Regions from separate parts of the Homo sapiens genome. Here regions 1, 3, 4 and 5 are each linked to region 2. Evidence: promoter capture Hi-C in 16 types of primary human blood cells and fetal thymus (Javierre and others, 2016). All regions are on one chromosome and are shown on one strand. Each heading gives the region's core, a stretch centred on a gene start or on the middle of the fragment in contact. The rest is flanking DNA. Distances are from core to core; before and after follow the strand shown.

What was found. The method cuts DNA at HindIII sites, captures the fragments that hold promoters and counts their contacts. A CHiCAGO score of 5 or more calls a contact.
Region 1: a fragment that was not itself captured here is called in contact with the fragment with the promoter of SLAMF7 in region 2 in 1 of 17 cell types (total CD8 T cells); the score reaches 5.3 in total CD8 T cells.
Region 3: a contact is called between a fragment that was not itself captured here and the fragment with the promoter of SLAMF7 in region 2, in 8 of 17 cell types (neutrophils, naive CD4 T cells, naive B cells and 5 more). The highest score is 8.3, in neutrophils.
Region 4: a fragment that was not itself captured here is called in contact with the fragment with the promoter of SLAMF7 in region 2 in 2 of 17 cell types (total B cells and fetal thymus); the score reaches 6.6 in total B cells.
Region 5: a fragment that was not itself captured here is called in contact with the fragment with the promoter of SLAMF7 in region 2 in 12 of 17 cell types (total B cells, non-activated CD4 T cells, fetal thymus and 9 more); the score reaches 10.0 in total B cells.

The regions. Positions count from the first base shown.
Region 1 is chr1:160,519,140-160,523,887 of GRCh38, forward strand. It overlaps SLAMF6 (SLAM family member 6), which reads right to left and starts at 4,116. Exons shown (of 8, transcript NM_001184714.2): 1 at 4,005-4,116. The coding sequence starts at 4,053. RefSeq lists an enhancer at 3,901-3,950. The HindIII fragment of the contact is 1,709 bases long and covers 2,036-3,744 here.
Region 2 is chr1:160,736,111-160,740,496 of GRCh38, forward strand. It overlaps SLAMF7 (SLAM family member 7), which reads left to right and starts at 3,137. Exons shown (of 7, transcript NM_021181.5): 1 at 3,137-3,246. The coding sequence starts at 3,192. LOC124904440 (a long non-coding RNA gene) reads right to left here and starts at 3,049. Exons shown (of 2, transcript XR_007066687.1): 1 at 2,973-3,049. The HindIII fragment of the contact is 11,353 bases long and covers 1-4,386 here.
Region 3 is chr1:160,977,525-160,981,874 of GRCh38, forward strand. No RefSeq gene overlaps it. Among named protein-coding and RNA genes, the nearest start is that of ITLN2, 25 kb to the left of the region's middle. RefSeq lists silencers at 975-1,269, 1,041-1,241. The HindIII fragment of the contact is 7,479 bases long and covers 1-4,350 here.
Region 4 is chr1:160,909,905-160,914,702 of GRCh38, forward strand. No RefSeq gene overlaps it. Among named protein-coding and RNA genes, the nearest start is that of ITLN1, 27 kb to the left of the region's middle. RefSeq lists a silencer at 1,575-1,869 and enhancers at 2,838-3,492, 3,493-4,147. The HindIII fragment of the contact is 1,024 bases long and covers 1,613-2,636 here.
Region 5 is chr1:160,929,792-160,932,491 of GRCh38, forward strand. LOC124904441 (a long non-coding RNA gene) reads right to left here. Exons shown (of 2, transcript XR_007066689.1): 2 at 1,855-2,386. It overlaps LOC101928372 (a long non-coding RNA gene), which reads left to right and starts at 2,674. Exons shown (of 6, transcript NR_110695.1): 1 at 2,674-2,700. The HindIII fragment of the contact is 1,228 bases long and covers 818-2,045 here.

The DNA of each region.
Region 1 (4,748 bases), core at 1,640-4,139, 220 kb before region 2:
GGGCAAAGGACTTGAATAGACATTTCTCCAAAGAGGATATACAAATGGCCAATAAACACTTAAAAAGATACTCAAAATCATTTGTCATTGGGAAAATGTAAATCAAAACCACAATAATATACCACTTCACACCTATTAGGATGGTGATAATAATCTTTTTAAAAAGGAAAAAAACAAGTGTTGATGAGGATGTGGAGAAATTATAACTCTTGTACACAGCTAGTGGAAATGTAAAATGGTACAGCCATTGTGGAAAACAGTTTGGCAATTTCCCAAAAAGTTAAGCATAGAATTATATGATCTGACAAATCCATTCCTAGGTATATACCCAGATAAAAACAGGTAGTCAAATACTTGTACACATAGCAGCACTATTCGCAAGAGCCAAAAGGCAAAAACAACCCAGGTGTCCACTGATAGATAAATGGATAAATAAAATGTAGTATATACAGAATACAAAATACTATTCAGCCAAAAAGGAATGAAGTACTGATACATGGTTCAGCATAGGTGAACCTGGAAAACATGATGCTAAGTGAAAGAAGTCAGACACGAAAGGTCATATATTGTGTGATTTCATTTATATGAAATTATCCAGAATAGGTAAACCCACAGAGACAGAAAGCAGATCGGTATTTGCCAGGGGCTGGGGGGGAGGGGAGAATGGGAAATGACTGCTTAGTGGGTACAGGGTTTCCTTTTGGGGTGATGAAAATGTTTTAGAATAATAGAAGTGGTGGTTTCACAAAATGTACAAAATGTCACTTTAAAATTATTACATCCTGTTACAAGAATTTCACCTTAATAAAAAATGTCTGAGTGTGAACAGAGAAACAATCAAAGCTGAATCTGGGTTAAGGGACCAAAAACAGAGGCATGAACACCTGGAGGTCACATTGGAGATTGCAGATTCTGAGAGGTGGAAAAACACGTGTCTGAGGATAATGAAAAAATATAAAACAGCTCTCTGCCTGTTGAGCACAATAAACATTTGAAAGATGTGGACGGTTGGTAAAAAGTAGATAACACTGCTCGGGGGCCATCAGGTCACAATCTCTTCACAGAAGAGCATTGCACATTTTGACTCAACCTCAGAATCAGCCCTCATGTGTTTGCTTTACTTACATTTCCAACCACTGCTCTCTCCTGGACCTCAGAATACCTATATCTGCTTCCTGCAAACACACTCAAAGTTAGTTTCTATTTCTTCCTCCCTACAATCCCAGTATGACTGAAGTCCATTGGAATTTAGAACCTTGCTGCTTAGTGTGGTCCATGGACAGGCAGCATTGGTGTCACCTGGGAGCCTCTTAGAAATGCAGAATCTCAGTCCCTATTCCCCAATCAGCATTTTAATAAGATTCCCCCAAGTAATTTATATGCACATTTAAGTTTGACAAATTTCCAACTTTCCATCTATAAAAATCAAAATGAAGAAACAAACGAGATTTATTTTCTCTAGGAAGTCATGATGCTTGATTTTATTTACAATTATTGTTTTGTTCTGTTAGTTTTGCCACCCAGGGCTTGAGTTAAAGGAAATGGGATTATTTTTCAATATGGTTTGTCTTTTCCACTAAATTTTCTAAAAGGAGTCAGGATAGTGCCCAACCCACTTCAAAGAATGTAGGCTGGCATGAGTCATTGTTTTTCATGGTTGTTTCAAAGATTAATTTCATTTGCCCCACATTTTTGCAACAGTGGTCTTCTTTCCCTTCCTAAATCACTCCAGGCTCTTTCCTGCATCACGGCTTTTCACACATGATTCCCTCTGCCCTAAAATCTTCTTCATTTGACTTTTCCTGTTTAACTTTTCACACCCTTTAAATATCAGATGAGATGTTACTTTTCCAGGAAGTCCTTTCTTCATCACTCCGTCCAAAGCAGGTCCCCGTGTTTTTCTCTATGAAGGTGCCCTGCTTATTTTTTTTGCTGGCCTCACATTTTCTAATTATGTACACATTTGTGTGAATGTATGACTGTGTGTAAGCTAAGTAGCATAGTGAAGTGGCTATGAGCACAGACTCCGGAGCCAAGCTTCCTGATTTCCAATTCTAGCAGCCACTTCTCTCCTCCTGGGTCTCAGAACACCTGCATCTGCCTCCTGTAAACTCATTCAAATGTGTTTCTCTTTCTATACCCATTTCCCCCATAAATGTGGGGCAGTGAGCAAGTTACTTTAGTGTTCTGTGCCTTCTTTCCCCATCTGTGAAGTGGAGATTGGAGCACTGTATATTTCATAGGGTCATTATAAGAAGTATTCATGGAAATAGGGAGAAGAAGAGGAGTTTTAACACAAGGACATTCAGAATATTTTATTCTAGAGGTGGAAATAATTTTGCAGGGTGGTAAAAATGAAGCAAAAACTCAAGATTCTGCTCCTAGATCAGGAAGTGGCTCTTGAATGAAGGAAAGAATTCTCTCTCTTTCTGCATTTTATATATATTTCCCAAAGTTCTGTTCTCATTCCAGTTTTCTCCTCAGCTTAACATATCTCTATGCCATTGATTTTTAAGTCTCTAGCCTCAGCTCTACCCCTAGTCCTAAGTTCCCAGGATCCTCCACGTAACTTCCTCATGTATAGCACACTGACATCCTAAAATCAGTAGGTCCAAAATTGAACTCACCTTCCTCCTGTGGCTGCTCTCCACCTTCCAATTTTGTCACTTTCTTTGGCTATCCTGTCTGAAATTTCACTGCCGTCTTTACCATATTTCATCTCTCCCTTTCCTTCTTGATTTATTTCTTCCTACCCAATACACTATTTTACTTGTTTATCTTTTTTTACAGTTTGTCTCCTGCTAAAATGTTAACTCCATGAGGGCAGGAATTTTTGCTTGCTTTGTTCATGATGTATTCATGCAAACTAGAAGAGTGCCAAGCATTCAGTAGGTGCTCAATGAATATTTATTCCTTTCTCATTCCAATTACCAATTACTCTACTTAACTCCATATTGATGGGATCTCTTGCTTCAGTCTCTTCTTTCTCTTATGCTGCTGCCACACTTGTTGAACTGTTATTTTTTCTCATAACTATTACAAGAGCTTGTCGCATGCTGGCTAATGAAATTTGGGCAAATTATTTAAATTAAGTTCACCTCAGTTCTTCATTTTAAAATGGAGATATTAATAGTATAAATTCATAGAATTCTCATGAGACTCATAACGTGTGTACAGCACCTGGCACAATACTTGAAATACAATAAGTGCTCAGTGAATGCTTCCTACTTTTATCTGCTACCCTGGGCTAGCTCTGGACTAGATTTCCATTGGTCTCCTGGACTATCTCTGCCTGAATGCTACACTTTGTCTCCCGTGGACCACTTGTAGTTCCCCAAATGTGATATGAATCTTCATCTTCTCCATATAATGGACAGCAGGAAACAAGAAGCCAGCTGGATCAGTTCATTCTTTTCTCACTGCCATATATAATGCATTGCTGGACTAGCTAGCCCTAATTTGCACTAAAGGAGGGGAGAGATGGAAACCTTTTTTTTTGCAATGAGCAAAAGGTGAGAGGGTTATTTTTGGTGTGTTTGGTTGGGCCCAGAAAATTTGGCTCAACTGAATAATAGGTTTTTAATAATTTAGATGAGGATAGTGAGGTTCAGGAAGGATAAGTAACCTCCCTGAGGTTCACAGTACGATAGTAGATACATTGGTATGAGGGCCCATTTTCTTGGTCTTGGTACTCTTTATAACACAAGATGCTGGTCATAAACCACAAACAGTCTTGTCTTCAAAAGCTTATTTCCTCTGCCCCAGCAAATAACTTTCTTACATGCAGACACAATTGAAATTGTTCACCGACAACCATCTCAGGCTTATCGCATCCAAAGTTGAGAGGAGGTAGTAGTATATCAGGTAACACTGCCAGCGTCCCCTTTCCCGCCCCAATCCCTTGGCAGAGAGCCAGACAACTGTATACAGACGATTTAGGTTGAGCAAGCTGCACAAAACCAGGGAGTCACTCAGTGACTACACCGATCTGGATTGACATTTACCTGGGCCAAAGCAGAAGACAAACAGGAGCGATTGGAACAGCCACAACATGCTTTCCGCGGTGAAGACTGGTGCTTGAGACCTTGAGGCAGTCAATGTTTTTGCCCTTCTGTCATAAACTGAAAATACTTCTGAGACTTCCCCTTCCTCTTAGAGGCGTGGTGACAACTTCTTCCCCTGCACTAAAAATCCTAATTTGTAACTGTGTTAATTTTTTGTTTACTTTTTTCTGAGCTAAGTGCACAAATTTTTTTTTTTTTTGGAAAAGAAGATAAAGTCCTTTATTGCATCTTTCATAAACTTATATGTAAAAGTCTGTAAGGAATTTCCTAAAATCTACTAGAACAAATAAATGAGTTCAGCAAGGTGAAAAGATACAAAATCAAAATATAAAATTCAATTGCAATTGTATATACTAGCTATGAGTAATCCAAAAATAAAATTCAAAAAACAATTCCACTCTAATTACATTAGAAAAAAATATTTAAGTATAAAGCTAAGAAAAAGCCAAAAGAAAACTGATTTTTTAAAATTATACTTTAAGTTCTAGGGTACATGTGCACAATGTGCAGGTTTGTTACATATGTATACATATGCCATGTTGGTGTGCTGCACCTATTAACTTGTCATCTACATTAGATATTTCTCCTAATGCTATCCCTCCCCTTGCCCCCCACCCCGTGACATACCCCAGTGTATGATGTTCCCCTACCTGTGTCCATGTGTTCTCATTGTTCAGTTCCCAC
Region 2 (4,386 bases), core at 1,887-4,386:
CTACCTTATCATCACTGTGTCAAAAATCACTCATCATAACAAGAACCAGGACAATCTTGACTTGAATGAACAAAAGGCAATCAACAGACACCAAAACCAAGACAACACAGACGTTAGAATTATCTTACAAGGATTTTAAAGAAACCATAGTAAAAATGCTTCAACTAGCAGCTATGAACACATTTAAAACAAATAAACAAAAAAACTAGAAAGTCTTTAAAAAAAGAGTAGAAGATATAAAGAAGAACCAAAGGGAAATTTTAGAATTGAATAATACAATGACTGAAAGGTAAAACTAATTGAATGAGTTTAATGAGCTTAATAGCAAAATGGAGGCCAGGGCCAGTGGCTCATACTGGCAATCCCAGCACTTGGGGAGGCCAAGGTGGGCGGATCACCTGAGGTCAAGAGTACAAGACCAGCCTGGCCAACATGGCAAAACTCTGTCGCTACCAAAATATAAAAATTAGCCAGGTGTGGTGGCGGGTGCCAGTAATCCCAGCTACTTAGGAGGCTGAGGCAGGAGAATCGCTTGAGCCCAGGAGACAGAGGTTGCAGTGAGCTGAGATCGTGCACTCCAGCCTGGGCAACAGAGTGAGACTCTGTCTCAGAAAAAATAAAAAAATAAAAAATTGCAAAATGGAGATGAAAAAGGAAAGAATCAGTGTACTTGAAGATAAACAATAGAAAATACCCAATCTGAAAACAGAGTGAAAATAGGCCAAAAAAAAAAAAAAAAAAAAAAAAAAATGGAGCCTCAGAGCCCTGTGGGAGAAAAACAAAAGATTTATAACATTCATGTCATCAGAATTTTAGGAGAGAAGCGAGAATGTGAGGCTGAAAAAAAAGTATTCAAAAAATAATGAAATTTCCCCAAACTTAGCAAAAGGTAAAAACCTACAGATTCAAGAGACTCAATGAATCACAAATAAGAGAAACCCAAAGAAATTCACACCAAGACACATTATAATCACACTTCTGAAAACTAAAGACAAACAAAAAACTTTTAAAACAGCTAGAGAAAAATGACACATTACCTACAGGGAAAACAACTTAAATGACGGCTGATTTCTCACTGGAAACCATGGAGGGGAGGAGTGTCATGACACTTTTCAAGTGTTGAAAGAAAAAAAACTGTCAACCTAGAATTTTATACCCAGGAATGAGGGTTAAATCAAGACATTCTCAGGTGAAGGAAAACTAAGATAATTTGTTATCAGCAGGCTTATCATAAAAGAATTCCTAAAGAATATCTTGAAACAGAAAGAAATGATTAAAGAAGAAAACTTGAAGGCTGGGTGTGGTGGCTCATACCTGTAATCCCAGCACTTTGGGAGGCCAAAGTTGGTGGATCACCTGAGGTCAGGAGTTTGAGACTAGCCTGGCCAACATGGCGAAACCTGATCTCTACTAAAAGTACAAAAAGTAGGTGGGCATGGTGGCATGAGCCTGTAGTCCCAGCTACTCAGGAGGCTGAGGCAGGAGAATCGCTTGAACCCAGGAGGCGGAGATTGCAGTGAGCCAAGATCATGCCACTACACTCCAGCCTGTATGACAGAGCAAGACTTCGTCCAAAAAAAAATAAAAAGAAGGAAACTTGAAACATTAGAAATAAAGAAATAACAATGAAAAGAGTTAAAATATGGGTAAATGTAATGGATTGTCCTTCTCCTCTTGAGTGTTCTGAATTATGTTCAACAATTGAAGCAAAACTTATAATCTTACCGATATGGTTCTCAATGAATATAGACAATATATTTAAGACAAGTATAAAGATAGACTAATAAAGAAACCTAATATAGGTAAGTTTTCTATACCTAGTTCAACTGGTAAAATGTCAACACTGATAGGTAGATCAAAAGTTATGTATGTAAAATGCAATATGTACAGCAACCAGTAAAAAAACTCTTCAAAAAGATACATTATAGATAAATCAAAATGGAATTATAAAAAATATTCCAGTAACACACAGGATGGCCAGGAAAGTGAAACAGAGGAACAAAATAAACAAACAAAAGCCCAGAAGAACAAAGAGAAAATAATAACATGGCAAACTTAAGCTCTGATATATAAATAATTACATTATGTAAGTCAGTTAAATAGAATAGATAGCTCCAGAATATACCCACACAAGTATAAGTGCTGATTTTTGATAAAGATACAAAAGTAATTCAATGTAGGAAAGATCATCTTTTCCATCACATGGTAGTAGAACAATTGAACACCCACAGGCAGAAGAAAAAAAAACACGCACATTGTAATCATACTTCTGAAAACCAAAGGCAAACAAAAAACTTTTAAAACAGCTAGAGAAAAATGACACATTACCTATAGGGAAAACAATTTAAATGATGGCTGATTTCTCACTGGAAACCATGGAGGGGAGGAGTGTCATGACACTTTTCAAGTGTCGAAAGCAAAAAAAAACTGTCAACCATATTACCTGATATGGTTCTCAATGAATATAGACAATATATTTAGGTGAATCTCAACCTAAACTTCACACCTTACATTAAAACAGGATCATACATTTAAATGTAAAACATAAAACTATAAAACTTTCAGGAGAAAACCTTTGGACCCTAGTGTGGGTAGAAAAAAAACTGATAAGTTGAATTTCATCAAAATTAAAATTTTTGCTCTGCCAAAGACCCCGTTAAGAAGATGAAAAGACAGGCTACAGACCAAGAGAAAATATTTGTAAACCACATATCTGACAAATGACTCTTATACTTGGAACATATAAGGAATTGTCAAAGCTCAACAGTAAAAAAAATAAAGAATCTGATTATAAAATGGACAAAAGACATAAATAGACATTTCACCAAGGAGGATATGGATATATAGATGGCAAATAAGCACATGAAAAGATGTTCAACATTATTAGGCTTTAGGGAAATGCAAATTAAAGCCACAATGAGGTATCACTACAGCACCTATTAAAACAGCTAAAATATAAAATGGGAATATACCAAATGCTGATGAAGATGGGGAGCAAATAGATCTCTCATAGATTGCTGGTGGCAAGGTAAAATGCTCTATTCACTCTGAAAATAATTTAGCAATTACTCAATCTCACATGTCTGCGGCGTGACCCCTCCTGCTTCTTTAAATATCAGCTGGGGAAGAGGTCTGAGTAATACCTAAGAGGGAAGTGGCTTCATTTCAGTGGCTGACTTCCAGAGAGCAATATGGCTGGTTCCCCAACATGCCTCACCCTCATCTATATCCTTTGGCAGCTCACAGGTGAGTCCGGCCGGATTCTCTTCCACTCTCCTGTCTACCCCATCCTGAATAGTTCCAGGTTTCTTGTTCCACTCTGGGCCTCTGGCTCAACTCGGGAGGCTCTGTGTTCTCATCTAACATTTGCTTTTTATCAATCTCTGATCTCTGATTCTCAGGTCAGGAAGAGACTAGAGAGAGGGGGAAAAATGGCTCTGGGAACTGACTCCCCTGTTGACTGTCCCAGGGATGAAGGAGCTGAAAGAAGTGGTGCTGGGTATCAGAGACCATTTTTCTAATCCAGGTTCTGCCATGAGTTAGATAAGGAATGTTAAAGTTTTCCTGGGCCTCAGAAACTTTATCTTCTAGCCTTCTCTCCTTTTGAGGGCAACTTTAAGAACAAGATGATACTATACAGGTATGTATTTATTTACTTATAAATGTATTTATAAAATTGGTTATGCATAACAGTAATATAAATGGAAAGAATCACTTGAATTTTCTTTCCTTACTCAAGCAATGTAATCAGTCTCTACTTAGAGAACCAACTCATACCATAGGCACTTTATGTTTAATCCCATGGAGGACAGAGGACAGTTCTCCACCTGTCACTGGTATTCTAGTCTTTGAAGATTTTTCTATCCTAAGGGCTCTCAGAAAGGATCAGGAGCCCTATAAGTGAGAAATATCTCTTCTGTCATCAATCTCATGGAGTACTACCATGAGGTCCCCCTATAAGGACTTCACATAACTGCTTCATTATGTGTATCTGAGCCTGCCTGGAGTGATCTGCCCAAGACCACGCAGGCAGCTGGTGCCCCCAATATTTTCCCCTGCATCGCTAAGTGGTCAGCATCAGCAGACTCTTACCCACTTTGAATTCATCAGAAGTTTGTATTTTTGAGAGGTACCTGGGTCTAACCAGGTGGTTCTGGAATAGGCCCTCACTTTAAAAAAAAAAAACAAAAAAAAAACTCCCTGAACGGAAATGATGAGCAGAAATAGAACTTGAGGGAGATAAGGTGGAGGGGTTGGGGAAAATTATAGAGACTTTGAAAGCTACAGGTGTCCATCTGAAATCAGTCAGCGAAAGAGCACAAGTATGAAAAACTGCCATGCAGGTCCCCCTCTGCCCTCCTCCAGAGGCAGCCTGTGTAGTGTACC
Region 3 (4,350 bases), core at 1,420-3,919, 240 kb after region 2:
ACTCCATCTGAAAAAAAAAAAAAAAAAAAGGCTGGGCGCGGTGGCTCATGCCTGTAATCCCTGCACTTTGGGAGGCTGAGGTGGGCGGATCACCGAGGTCAGGAGCTCAAGACCAGCCTGGCCAACATGGTGAAACCTCGTCTCTACTAAAAATACAAAACTTAGCCAAGCATGGTGGCAGGCACCTGTAATCCCAGCTACTCAGGAGGGTGAGACAGGAGAATAGCTTGAATCCAGGAGGCGGGGGTTGCAGTGAGCCGAGATCGCACCATTGCACTCCAGCCTGGGGGACAAGAGGAAGACTTTGTCTCAAAAAAAAAAAAAAAGTGTAAGTTTCCCCTTAAGTAAGAGAAATTTACATTTGAAAAGAAAATTTCCAGCCAGCTGTGGTGGCTCAAGCCTGTAATCCCAGCACTTTGGGAGGCCAAGGCAGGAGGATCGCTTAAGGCCAGGAGTTCAAGACTAGACCCTGGGCAAGAAAAGAAATGTCCATTAATAAAAGTATCTGTATCAGGAAGAGAGCTAATCTGACACAACTTTAATCACCTGAGAGACTTCTATCTGCATAATCAAGCAACTTTTACTCACCATACATTTCCTCTCCTCACCCTCCTATAATTTGCCTCCACCACCCTATAGAAGCCCCAAGCCCGTATATCTTTCTGTAGCTCAGGATGGCATGTAAACCTCAATCATCTGGCTACTTTGAATCTCTTTTTATTTTATTTTATTTTTTTTGAGAAGGAGCCTTGCTCTGTTGCCCAGGCTGGAGTACAGTGGCAAGATCTTGGCTCACTGCAACCTCCACCTCCCAGGTTGAAGCAATTCTCCTGCCTCAGCCTCCAGAGTAGCTGGGGACTACAGGCATGTGCTGCCATGCTCAGCTAATTTTTTTCTATTATTTTTAGTAGAGATGGGGTTTCCCCATATTGGCCAGGCTGATCTCGAACTCCTGACCTCAAGTGATCCACCCGCCTCAGCCTCCCAAAGTGCTGGGATTACACAGGTGTGAGCCGCCGCGCCTGGCCTTTCATATTTTTGTCAGACTCCCACTTATATATATGTAACTAAGAGAGAAGATTATTTTTCCTCCCCTACGATTGTTTTTTTAGGCTGGGTGCCATGGCTCACAGGCGTATTTGTTCACGCCTGTAATCTCGGCACTTTGGGAGGCTGAGGAGGAGGGAGGATCGCTTCATCTCAGAAGTTCAAGGCCAGTCTGGGCAACATGCCAAAACTCCATCTCTACAAAAATACAAAACTTAGCCAGGCATCGTGGCACATACCTGTAGTCCCAGCTCCCTGGGAGGCTGAGGTGGGAGGATCACTTGAGCCCCGGGGGGTGAGGCTGCAGTGAGCCGAGATCCCACCACTGCACTCCAGCCTGGGCAAAGAGAGAGATGCTGTCTCGAAAAAAAAATAAATAAATAAGATTGTTTTTCTTCTGTTAATCTTATATTAGTTTAATTCTTAGACCAGCTACAGAATCTAGAGGGGTGAAGAAGGCATTTTTCCTTCCCTACACTTAGTTGACATTTCAGCATGCCATTTCTGACTATATAAACCTCTATTCTCAGGAGGAGATGAAAATCTCATGGAGGAGATGAAAATATGCCACCCCAAAATATGACTGTAGGACACCTGAGTATGCCACCCAAAACATGCCTTTTGGGCATAAGGATTATTTTGAGCTGATTATTTTGAGAACTGCAAACATAGAAGTTACCCTTTTGTATGTGAAATCTATATCTCAATAAAGGAAATCTTCCTTTGTAAGAATGATTCCTAAAGCAGAACTACTACATGACTCTCAACTGCATGAGACCAACCTAGTAGAAATGTGAGCTGCAGATTTTGACTTGGAAAAAAAGAACTTTAGGCCAGACAGTGGCTCATGCCTATGATTTCAGCACTTTGGGAGGCCAAGGTGGGAGGATTGCTTGAGCCGAAAAATTCCAGACCAGCCTAGGCAACATAGCTAGCGAGACTCCATCTCTACAAAAAACTAAAAAATTAGCCAGCTGTGGTAGCATGTGCCTGTACTACCAGCTACTCAGGAGGATGAGGTGGGAGGATCATCTGAGCCCTGAAGGTGCAGCAAGCCATGATTGCACCACTGAACTGCAGCCTGGGTAACAAAGCAAGATCCTGTCTCTCAAAAAAAAAAGAACTTTATAGTCCTTGAGAAAAGTACGACCCCAGGCTGGGTGTGTTGGCTCACGCCTATAATCCCAAAACTTTGGGAGGATGAGGCGGGTGAATTGCTTGAGCCCAGGAGTTCAAGACCAGCCTGGCCAACATGGTAAAACCCCGTCTCTACTAAAAATACCAAAAAAAAAAAAAAAAAAATTAGCCAGGCTTGGTGGTGGTCACCTGTAGTCCCAGCTACTCAGGAGGCTGAGGCAGGAGAATTGCTTGAACCCAGGAGGCTGAGGTTGCAGTGAGCTGAGATCGCACTGCTGCACTCCAGCGTGGGCAACAGAGCGAGACTCCGTCTCAAAAAAATAAATAAAAGAAAAAAGAAAAGAAAATTATGAGACCCAGTAGGTTCTGACTCCAAGACAAGATTCAGAAATCCAAAGGGGCACGAGACTGTCGGTAAAGTAAGACTGAGTTATGAGTAAAACTGTCAAGTATTAATGGAAATATGGAGTAATGCTTAGATTATATTTCCTATACAAATTAAAAGCATACTCAACCAGACTGGGCGCCATGGCTCAGGCCTATAATCCCAGCACTTTGGGAGGCCAAGACAGGCAGATCACCTGAGGTCAGGAGTTCAAGATCAGCCTGGCCAACATAGTGAAAACCATCTCTACTAAAAATACAAAAATTAGCCTGGCGTGGTGGCCCATGCCTGTAATCCCAGCTATTTGGGAGGCTGAGGCAGGAGAATTGCTTGAACCCAGGAGTCAGGGGTTGCAGTAAGCGGAGATGGGGCCACTGCACTCTCGCCTGGGAGACAGGGCAAAATTATGTCTCTAAATCAATTAATTAATTAAAATAAATAAAAGCATACTCAGCCAGGCAGTGGGATTACTCCTGTAATCCCAGCATTTTGGGAGGCTGAGGCAGGATTGTTTGAGCCCAGGAATTTGAGACTGGCCTGGACAACATAGTGAGACCCTGTCTCTATTTTTTTGAGAAATTAAAAAAAAAAATTAAAAGTCTATTCAATAGGCATCATCCTTAAGTACAGCTGTATCAGTTCGTAACACAACCACAGACTGAGTGGCTTAAATAACAGAAATTTATTGTCTCACAGTTCTGGGGGCTAGAAATCCAAGATCAAGGTGTCAGCATGTTTGGTTTCTTCTGAGGCCTCTCTCCTTGGCCTGCAGATGGCCATCCTCTTGCTATTCCTCATGCAGTCGACCCTTGGTCTGTATTAGTGTCTTAATCTCTTATAAGAACACCAGTCACATTGGATTCGAGCCCACCCTAATGACCTCATTTAACCTTAATAACCTCTTTAAAGGCCCCATGTCCAAATACAGTCACACTCTCAAAGGTACTGAAGGTTAGAACTTGAACCTAAGGGTTTGAGGGGACAAAATTCAGCCCAAAACACCAGTGTTAGTGATAATATTTGTTACAATTTTTGACATTAAAGTGTAAAAGTCTCCTGGAGGGATCCTATTGGGAAAATCATGTTCCAAATAAGCACAAAATAATTAGAGGGAAAAAGCCCTCTTTACACTGCCTCCCAAAAGACATTGAAAGGGGATAAATCCTTAATCTCAGTAATACTTTTTTTTATTTTTCTTATTTTTTTGAGACGGAGTCTCACATTGTCGCCCAGGCTGGAGTGCAGTGGCCGATCTCGGCTCACTGCAAACTCCGCCTCCCAGGTTCACGCCATTCTCCTGCCTCAGCCGCCCGCCACCTTGCCCGGTTAATTTTTTTGTATTTTTAGTAGAGACGGGGTTTCACTGTGGTAGCCAGGATGGTCTCGATCCCCTGACCTCGTGATCCCCCCGCCTCGGCCTCCCAAAGTGCTAGGATTACAGGCGTGAGCCACCGCGCCCAGCCAGTAATACTTTTTATAATCCCCTTTCTCTTCTCCCTCATTTTCTCCAATCCCGCTCCCCTAACCCACAGAATCCAGTTGCGCACCCTAGTTCCCAGGGCGGGTCCCCAGCCCTCGGCTCTTTGCAATGTAAATTAAGTCAGCTTCCCCGTAAATACCTTGCGCTGGCCTCTCCCAGGCTTTTCAGTTCTGCCCTTTCTATAATTCTGCATCACAAAAGTTCAGAACCAGTCTGGCCAGGATCTACTCTCCCAGAGATGGGAAGTGGGACGCAGTCGCTGCAAGGTATCAGAAATGGGGTCGGGACAGGAGGCGCAGCT
Region 4 (4,798 bases), core at 875-3,374, 170 kb after region 2:
TCCGGAACTGTTTCCTTCTGGTGGGTTCTTGGTCTCGCTGACTTCAGGAGTGAAGCCACAGACCCTCGTAGTGAGTGCTACAGTTCTTAAAGATGGTGTGTCCAGAGTTTATCCCTTCAGATGTTCAGATGTGTTCGGAGTTTCTTCCTTCCGTTGGGTTCGTGGTCTGGCTAACTTCAGGAGTGAAGCTGCAGACCTTCACAGTGAGTGTTACAGCTCTTAAAGGTGGCACATCGAGTTGTCTGTTCCTCCCGGTGGGTTCGTGGTCTCACTGACCTCAGGAGTGAAGCCGCAGACCCTCGTGGTGAGTGTTACAGCTAATAAAGATAGTGTGGACCCAAAGAGTGAGCAGCAGCAATATGTATTGTGAAGAGGGAAAGAACACTTCCACACAGTGGAACAGGACCCAATGGGGTTGCGGCTGCTGGCTCTAGTGGCCAGCGTTTATTCCCTTATTTGGCCCCACCCACCTCCTGCTGATTGGTCCATTTTACAGAGTGCTGATTGGTACATTTACAAACCTTTAGCTAGACACAGAGCACTGATTGGTGTGTTTACAATCCTTTATCTAGACAGAAAAGTTCTCCAAGTCCCAACAGGACCCAGAAGCCCAGCTGGCTTCACTTCTCAATACTAGCAACTGCCGCTACTACAGCTGTTTCTCTGACACAATCTATTCACACAGCCTTGGTAGCAAACCACATGGTATACAAAGTAACCCATGGATTTCAAGAACAAGTAAATATTGATAAAACTATTTTGTCTCACCTGGAGGCTCTTAAAGCCGCTGTTGAATGGCTGGGGGATCAGCAGCAGGTATTCATTACTTGTCAAAATTTACATTGTGATTGGCAATATAATTCTATCTGTGTCACACCTCTGCCATATAATAGCTCCCAATATACTTGGGAGAGAGTGAAGGCGCACCTACAAGGGGCTTATCAGGACCACTTATCCTCTCAAATTTCTACTCTTGAGTGCGAGTTAAAGAAACAACTTAAAGAATGATCACAGCAGGCCAGGCGCGGTGGCTCATGCTTGTAATCCTAGCACTTTGGGAGGCCAAGGCGGGCAGATCACGAGGTCAGGAGATCTAGACCATCCTGGCTAACACGGTAAAACCTCATCTCCACGAAAAATACAAAAAATTAGCCGGGCGGGGTCGCGGGCGCCTGTAGTCCCAGCTACTCGGGAGGCTGAGGCAGGAGAATGGCGTGAACCCAGGAGGCAGAGGTTGCAGTGAGCCAAGGTCGTGCCACTGCACTCCGGCCTGGGCAACAGAGCGAGACTCTGTCTCAAAAAAAAAAAAAAAAAAAAAAGAATGATCACAGCAATTACAAACAAATATCCTTCAGCAATTACAAGAAGGTTTTCAATGGTTGAACCTGAACACTTAGTTGTCTGGATTAAACATACACATTTGGGTGATGGCCACTATACCTATTCTTTTTTGTATCTGTTTGCTAGGCATCTGCAAATGGCTCTGTGCTGCCCCCCGCCCACGCATCTATGATCAGGAAAGAACGATAGAAGCTTACCTTGCATTAGATAACCAGCATGCTCTAAGAATTAAAGAAGGGGGAGATGTGGGGGGTGCACAGCAACATATTCAAGCTTATGTGCAAGGCATTTGAGGTCGAGGCATGGGAAAATACTGAGGCACTGTGTGTATGTTGTTTGCGCATGAGACTGAAATTCCTTGACCCTGAAAACAGGGCAAGGAACGGAATGTGTGATAAGGAACTGTGTAATAAGGAGTTGTGTGATAAGGAGGGCTGAGAACAGCCTCCTAAGAATGTGGTCTGAGTGCTTTTAGATGTAACAAATAAGGCTATATGTGCCTCGTGACCAGACCGCAAATCGTTACCTAGCCAATGTCTCGTTTGTCTAAATTGTAGTTTAAGAAGCCCTCTCAATAAATACTTGGCTTACCCATCTTAAAGCAGCACTCTCTCAGAAGAGCTGCTACTTGTCCCGCTCAGCTGGAATTGTCTGAATACTTCATTCTCGGTGTTCGCTGCAGCTACAAGCTGCAGACCTTGTTTCTTATTCTGCTCTTAACAAATTACCACAAACGTGGTGTCTTAGAACACAAATTTGTTGTTTTAAAGTTCTAGAAGTCAGAAATTCAAAATGAGCTTTATGGAGCTGAGAGGTGTTGGCAGAGCTGTTTCTTCTCAGGGCTCAGGGAAGAATGTTTTCTTTTCCAGATTCAAACACCACCCACACTCCTTAGCTCATGGCTCCTTCCTCTATCTTCAAAACACATCACTCTAACCTCTGCTCTGATCATCGCATTTCCTTTTCTGTACCCTCTGCCTGCCTTCTGTACCCTTGTTTGACCCTTTGCCTGCCTTTAAAGGACTCATGTGATTACATTGAGCCCACCTGGATAATCCAGGACACTCCTCTCATCTCAAAATCCTTAACTTAATCACATCTGCAAAGTCCCTTTTGCCATCTAAGATAACATATCCACAGGTTTCAGAAATTAGAATGTGGACATCTTTGGGGGGCCATTATTCTGCCTTCCATACCCTTTACTGTAGATTTGAACATTTTCAAAATAAAGAGTAAGGAAAATGTCTAGAAAATTAGAGCAATCAAAATAAATGTAGGCCTGTAACTCTTTGTGAAGCTTTGCGAAGGCCCTTCTTAGGAGCTAACCTTGGAGTCCAGGAAGCCTCGCAGGGGAACCAAGGCTAAACAGAGGTTCACAGAGGACTCCTGAAACCAGGAATACATCCTCCAGTCATGCAGTCCAGCATGGTTAATGAAAGAAAAAGCACAACTCTTCCTTCAAAAGCCCACTGCTGAGCCAGGTATGGTGGCTCAGAACTGTAATCCCAGCTACTCTGAAGGCTGAGGTGGGAAGATTGCTTGAGCCCATGAGTTTGAGTCAACCTGGGCAAAATAGCAAGACCCCATCTCAATTTTTTTAATAAAATTTAAAAAAACTTTTTTTGAGATGGAGTCTCACTCTGCTGCCCAGGCTGAAGTGCAGTGATGCGATATCAGCTCTCTGCAACCTGCACCTCCCAGGTTCAAGTGATTCTCCTGCCTCAGTCTCCCAAGCAGCTGAGATTACAGGTGCGCACCACCACACCCAGTTAATTTTTGTATATTTTTTAGTAGAGATGGGGATTCACCATGTTGGCCAGGCTGGTCTTGAACACCTGACCTCAGGTGATCCACCCGCTTCAGCCTCCCAAAGTGCTGGGATTACAGGTGTGAGCCTGTGGAGAAAAGAAAGAGAGATCAGATTGTTACTGTGTCTGTGTAGAAAGAAGTAGACATAAGAGACTCCATTTTGTTCTGTACTAAGAAAAATTCTTCTGCCTTAAAATGCTGTTAATCTGTAACCTTACCCCCAACCCTGTGCTCCCTGAAACATGTGCTTTGTCAACTCAAGGTTAAATGGATTAAGGGCTGTGCAAGATGTGCTTTGTTAAACAGATGCTTGAAGGCAGCATGCTCCTAAAGAGTCATCACCACTCCCTAATCTCAAGTACCCAAGGACACAAACACTGCGGAAGGCTGGAAGGGGAAGGCCGCTTGGGCCTCTGCCTAGGAAAGCCAGGTATTGTCCAAAGTTTCTCCCCATGTGATAGTCTGAAATATGGCCTCGTAAGAAAGGAAAGACCTGACCGTCCCCCTGCCTGACACCCGTAAAGGGTCTGTGCTGAGGAGGATTAGTAAAAGAGGAAAGAACGCCTCTTTGCAGTTGAGACAAGAGGAAGGCATCTGTCTCCTGCCTGTCCCTAGGCAATGGAATGTCTTGGTGTAAAACCCGATTGTATATTCCATCTACTAAGATAAAGGAAAACCACCTTAAGGCTGGAGGTAGGACAGCAGGCAGCAATACTGCTCTTTAAGGCATTGAGATGTTTATGTGTATACATATCTAAAGCACAGCACTTAATTCTTTACCTTCTCTATGATGCAGAGACCTTGTTCACGTGTTTATCTGCTGACCTGCTCTCCACTATTATCCTATGACCCTGCCACATCCCCCTCTCCGAGAAACACCCAAGAATGATGAATAAATACTAAAGGAACTCAGAAGCTGGCAGAATCCTCCGTAATGCTGAATACCAGTCCCCTAGGCCCCCTTTTTCCTTTCTCTATACTTTGTCTCTGTGTCTCTTTCTTTTCAAAGTCCCTCGTTCCACCTAATGAGAAACACCCACAGGTGTGGAGAGGCAACCCGCCCCATCATGAGCCACTGTGCCCAGCCTGAATTAAATTTTTTAAAGTTTAATTGAGCAATGAACAGTTCCCGAAACTGGCAGCCTCCCAAGCCAGAGTAGGTTCAGAGACTCCAGCGCAGCTACGTGGTGGAAGATTTACTGATGGAAAAGGAAAGTGACATACAGAAAATGGAATTGAGGTACAGAAACAGCTGCATTGGTTATAGCTTGGCGTTTGCCTTATTTGAACACAGTTTGAACATTTAGCCACATTTGATGGTCAAAATTTGGTGACTGGCACAAGAGTAGACCACAGTTTGTTCACATTTCCACTTAGGCTATAGTTCATGATGAAACCTTTAAGCCGAACTGAAAATATGTAACGAAGCCGCTTTAGGCTAAACTTGATTTAACAAATTCCCCCTTTTGGTCATCCTCTCAATTTTGAGAGATTTACTGAAACTTTAGTCATTGATGTCACAATCACCGTCATAAAAGTACTTATTTGGTCTTGAAACCCACTGGGAAATGGTAGAACAGTGGGTTTTTGCAAGGTGAGAACAAGGACTTTGGGTTGTTTTTTTAAGGGTAGAGGGTACTTCCTTATG
Region 5 (2,700 bases), core at 182-2,681, 190 kb after region 2:
TCCTCAACACAGCCAAAGTCATCCTGTTAAATCAGGCTACCCTCCTACTCAGACCTCTCTGAAGGCTTCTAGTCTTGCCCAGAAGGCCCACAATATCCTACACAATCTGCTCCCATCTTACCTTTGTGCTGTCATGACCTGCTGCTTTCCTCCATACTTATGCAGCTTCTGCTAGCCAAATCTCCCTGCAGCTCCCTGAACGCAGTGAAGATACTCCCATCTCAATACCTTGGCAGTTGCTATTCCCTCTGCCTGGTACTTTATGGCTCAATCCCTCACCTTCTTCAGATCCTTCCTCAATGTCACCTTCTCACTGAAGTCTTCTTTAAAGATCTATTAAAGTTGTAAACCACCACCACCCCCAATATATCTATGTCGCTACTCAACTTTCTTTTTCTCCATAGCACTTTTCAAACTTAACATTCTAGTCTGGGTGTGGTGGCTCATGCCTGTAATCCCAGCACTTTGGGAGGCTGAAGCGGGGGGATCATTTGAGCCCAGGAGTTCAAGAACAGCTGGGCAACATAAGGAGACCTGGTTTAAAAAAATAAAAATAAATAAATAAATAAAAACTTGACATTCTATTATTTATTTTTATAGCATATTGTATATTTCCTGGTACTAGGGTACAATCTCCAGAAAGGCAGAAATGTGTACCTGACTTGTTGCTATATCCCCAGCATCTAGAATATGTTCTGGCACATAATAGGCTCGCAATTAATGCTTTTAAAAGAAATAAACACACAAATTTGTGATTAGAAAACATTCATGAAGCCTGCTGTTAGTTCTAGAGCAGCCACTAAAAGGATAGAAAAAAAGCTTACAATTTTAAAACTAGTAGAGAGAAAAAAACAATGACACAATTGTGTCAGTTTCCTAGGGTTGCCATAACAAATTGTCACAACCTAGGTGGCTTTTTAAGAAATTACTCTATTTCAGAGGTGAGAAGTCCAAAATTAAGGCATCAGCAGGACTGTGCTCTGTCCAAAGACTCTGCAGGAGGATCTTCTCTTGCCTCATCCAGCTTCAGGTAGAAAGCAATCCTTGGGTTTTTTGTTTGTTTGCTTTTGGTTTTGATAGAAATGGAGTTTCACTGTATTTTTTGCCCAGGCTGGTCTCAAACTCCTGGGCTCAAGCAATCATCCCACCTCAGCCTCCCAAAGTACTGGGATTACAGGTATGAGGCACCATGCCTGGCCAATCCTTGGTATTTATTGATTTGTGGCCACATAACTCCCTTCTCTGCCTCCGTCTTCATACAGCTGCCTTCCATCTGTGTGTGTTTCTGCATCTGTGTCTCTTCTCTTCTTATAAGGATATTAGTTATATTGGAATTAGGGCCCACCCTAATCCACTATAACTGCATTTTAAATAGTTGCATCTGCAAAAATCTCATTTCCAAATAAGGTCACATTCACAGGTACCTTGGATTAGGACTTTAACATACCACTTTAGGGAACACAGTTCAACTCACAATAGCAATCATCAGTCTTGGTCTTGAATTATGTCTATATTCATACAGAATGCTCAGCAATGCTATGATCTGAACATTTATGTCCTCTCAAATTCATATGTAGGTTTGTTAATATCCTGTTTAGAATTGTTGCATATACAGTCATGAGGGTGGTTGGCTTATAATTATCTTTTCTTGTGATACTCTTGTGAGATTTTCATATCAAGGTTATGCTGGATACATTGTTAGAGGAGCAGCCCACAAGACCACCCTCACTTCTGACACCGATTGCAAGGTTGGGGTCCCCCAATATCCTCCTCCTCTCTGACATTAATTGTCAGCTTGGGGGGACCCCAAGACCACCCGTGAGTTTAATAATTCACAAGACAAACTCACAGTGCTCATGGAAAGTTACGGTTTATTGCAGCTAAGAATACAGGTTAAAATCAGCCAAGGGAAGGGGTACATAGGGCAGAGTTCAGGAAAGCTCTAAACACAGAACTCCCAGTTGTCCTTTCCATGAGTTGTGGACAGTGTTAATTTCCTGACATCCAGTGTGTGATAATACTCGCAGAATATTGTCAACCAGGGAAGCTTACTCAGGCCAGTTTATTAGGCTCAATCACATAAATCTGGTCAGCTGCCCTCAGTCTCCTAGCCCTTGCAAAGTTTGAGCTGATACCACTGTTCTGGTGTGGGGTTTTCATGAGGTTGCAGTCACATGGTGGCTGGGGTTGGGATAATCTTTAAGACTCTTTCTCTAACATGTCCGATCCCTGGGTGGGCAGACTGAAACAGCTACAGAAAGAAGCATATATGGCTTCTTGGGCATCTTTCTACTTCTATATGATCTTTTCACATGGTCTCTCCAGCATAGCAGCTTCAGGATAGTGGACTTCTCACTTAATAAATCAGGATCCGAAGGCACAAGTCCTAAGAAAGAGAAAGCCAGGAAGAAGCTGTATCATTTTTTAGGATGCAGTCTCAGAGGTCACACTTCTGCCATATTCTTTTCATGAAAACTTAGTCACTAAGCCCGCCCAAATTTGGTGGGGTGGGGGGAATTACCAAAGAATTGGCAGGCTATATGCAGAATATGCCATATCAGTGAATTTTCTATGTCAGAATGATCTTTCCAAGGTGAAAAACAATACTGGGTCAGGGTTGGTCTCTGGATTTTGAAAGCAACACATATAACATGTGAGCCTGCTGCTTTCATCTAGGCCAATTTTAAGTGGGGCACAAAG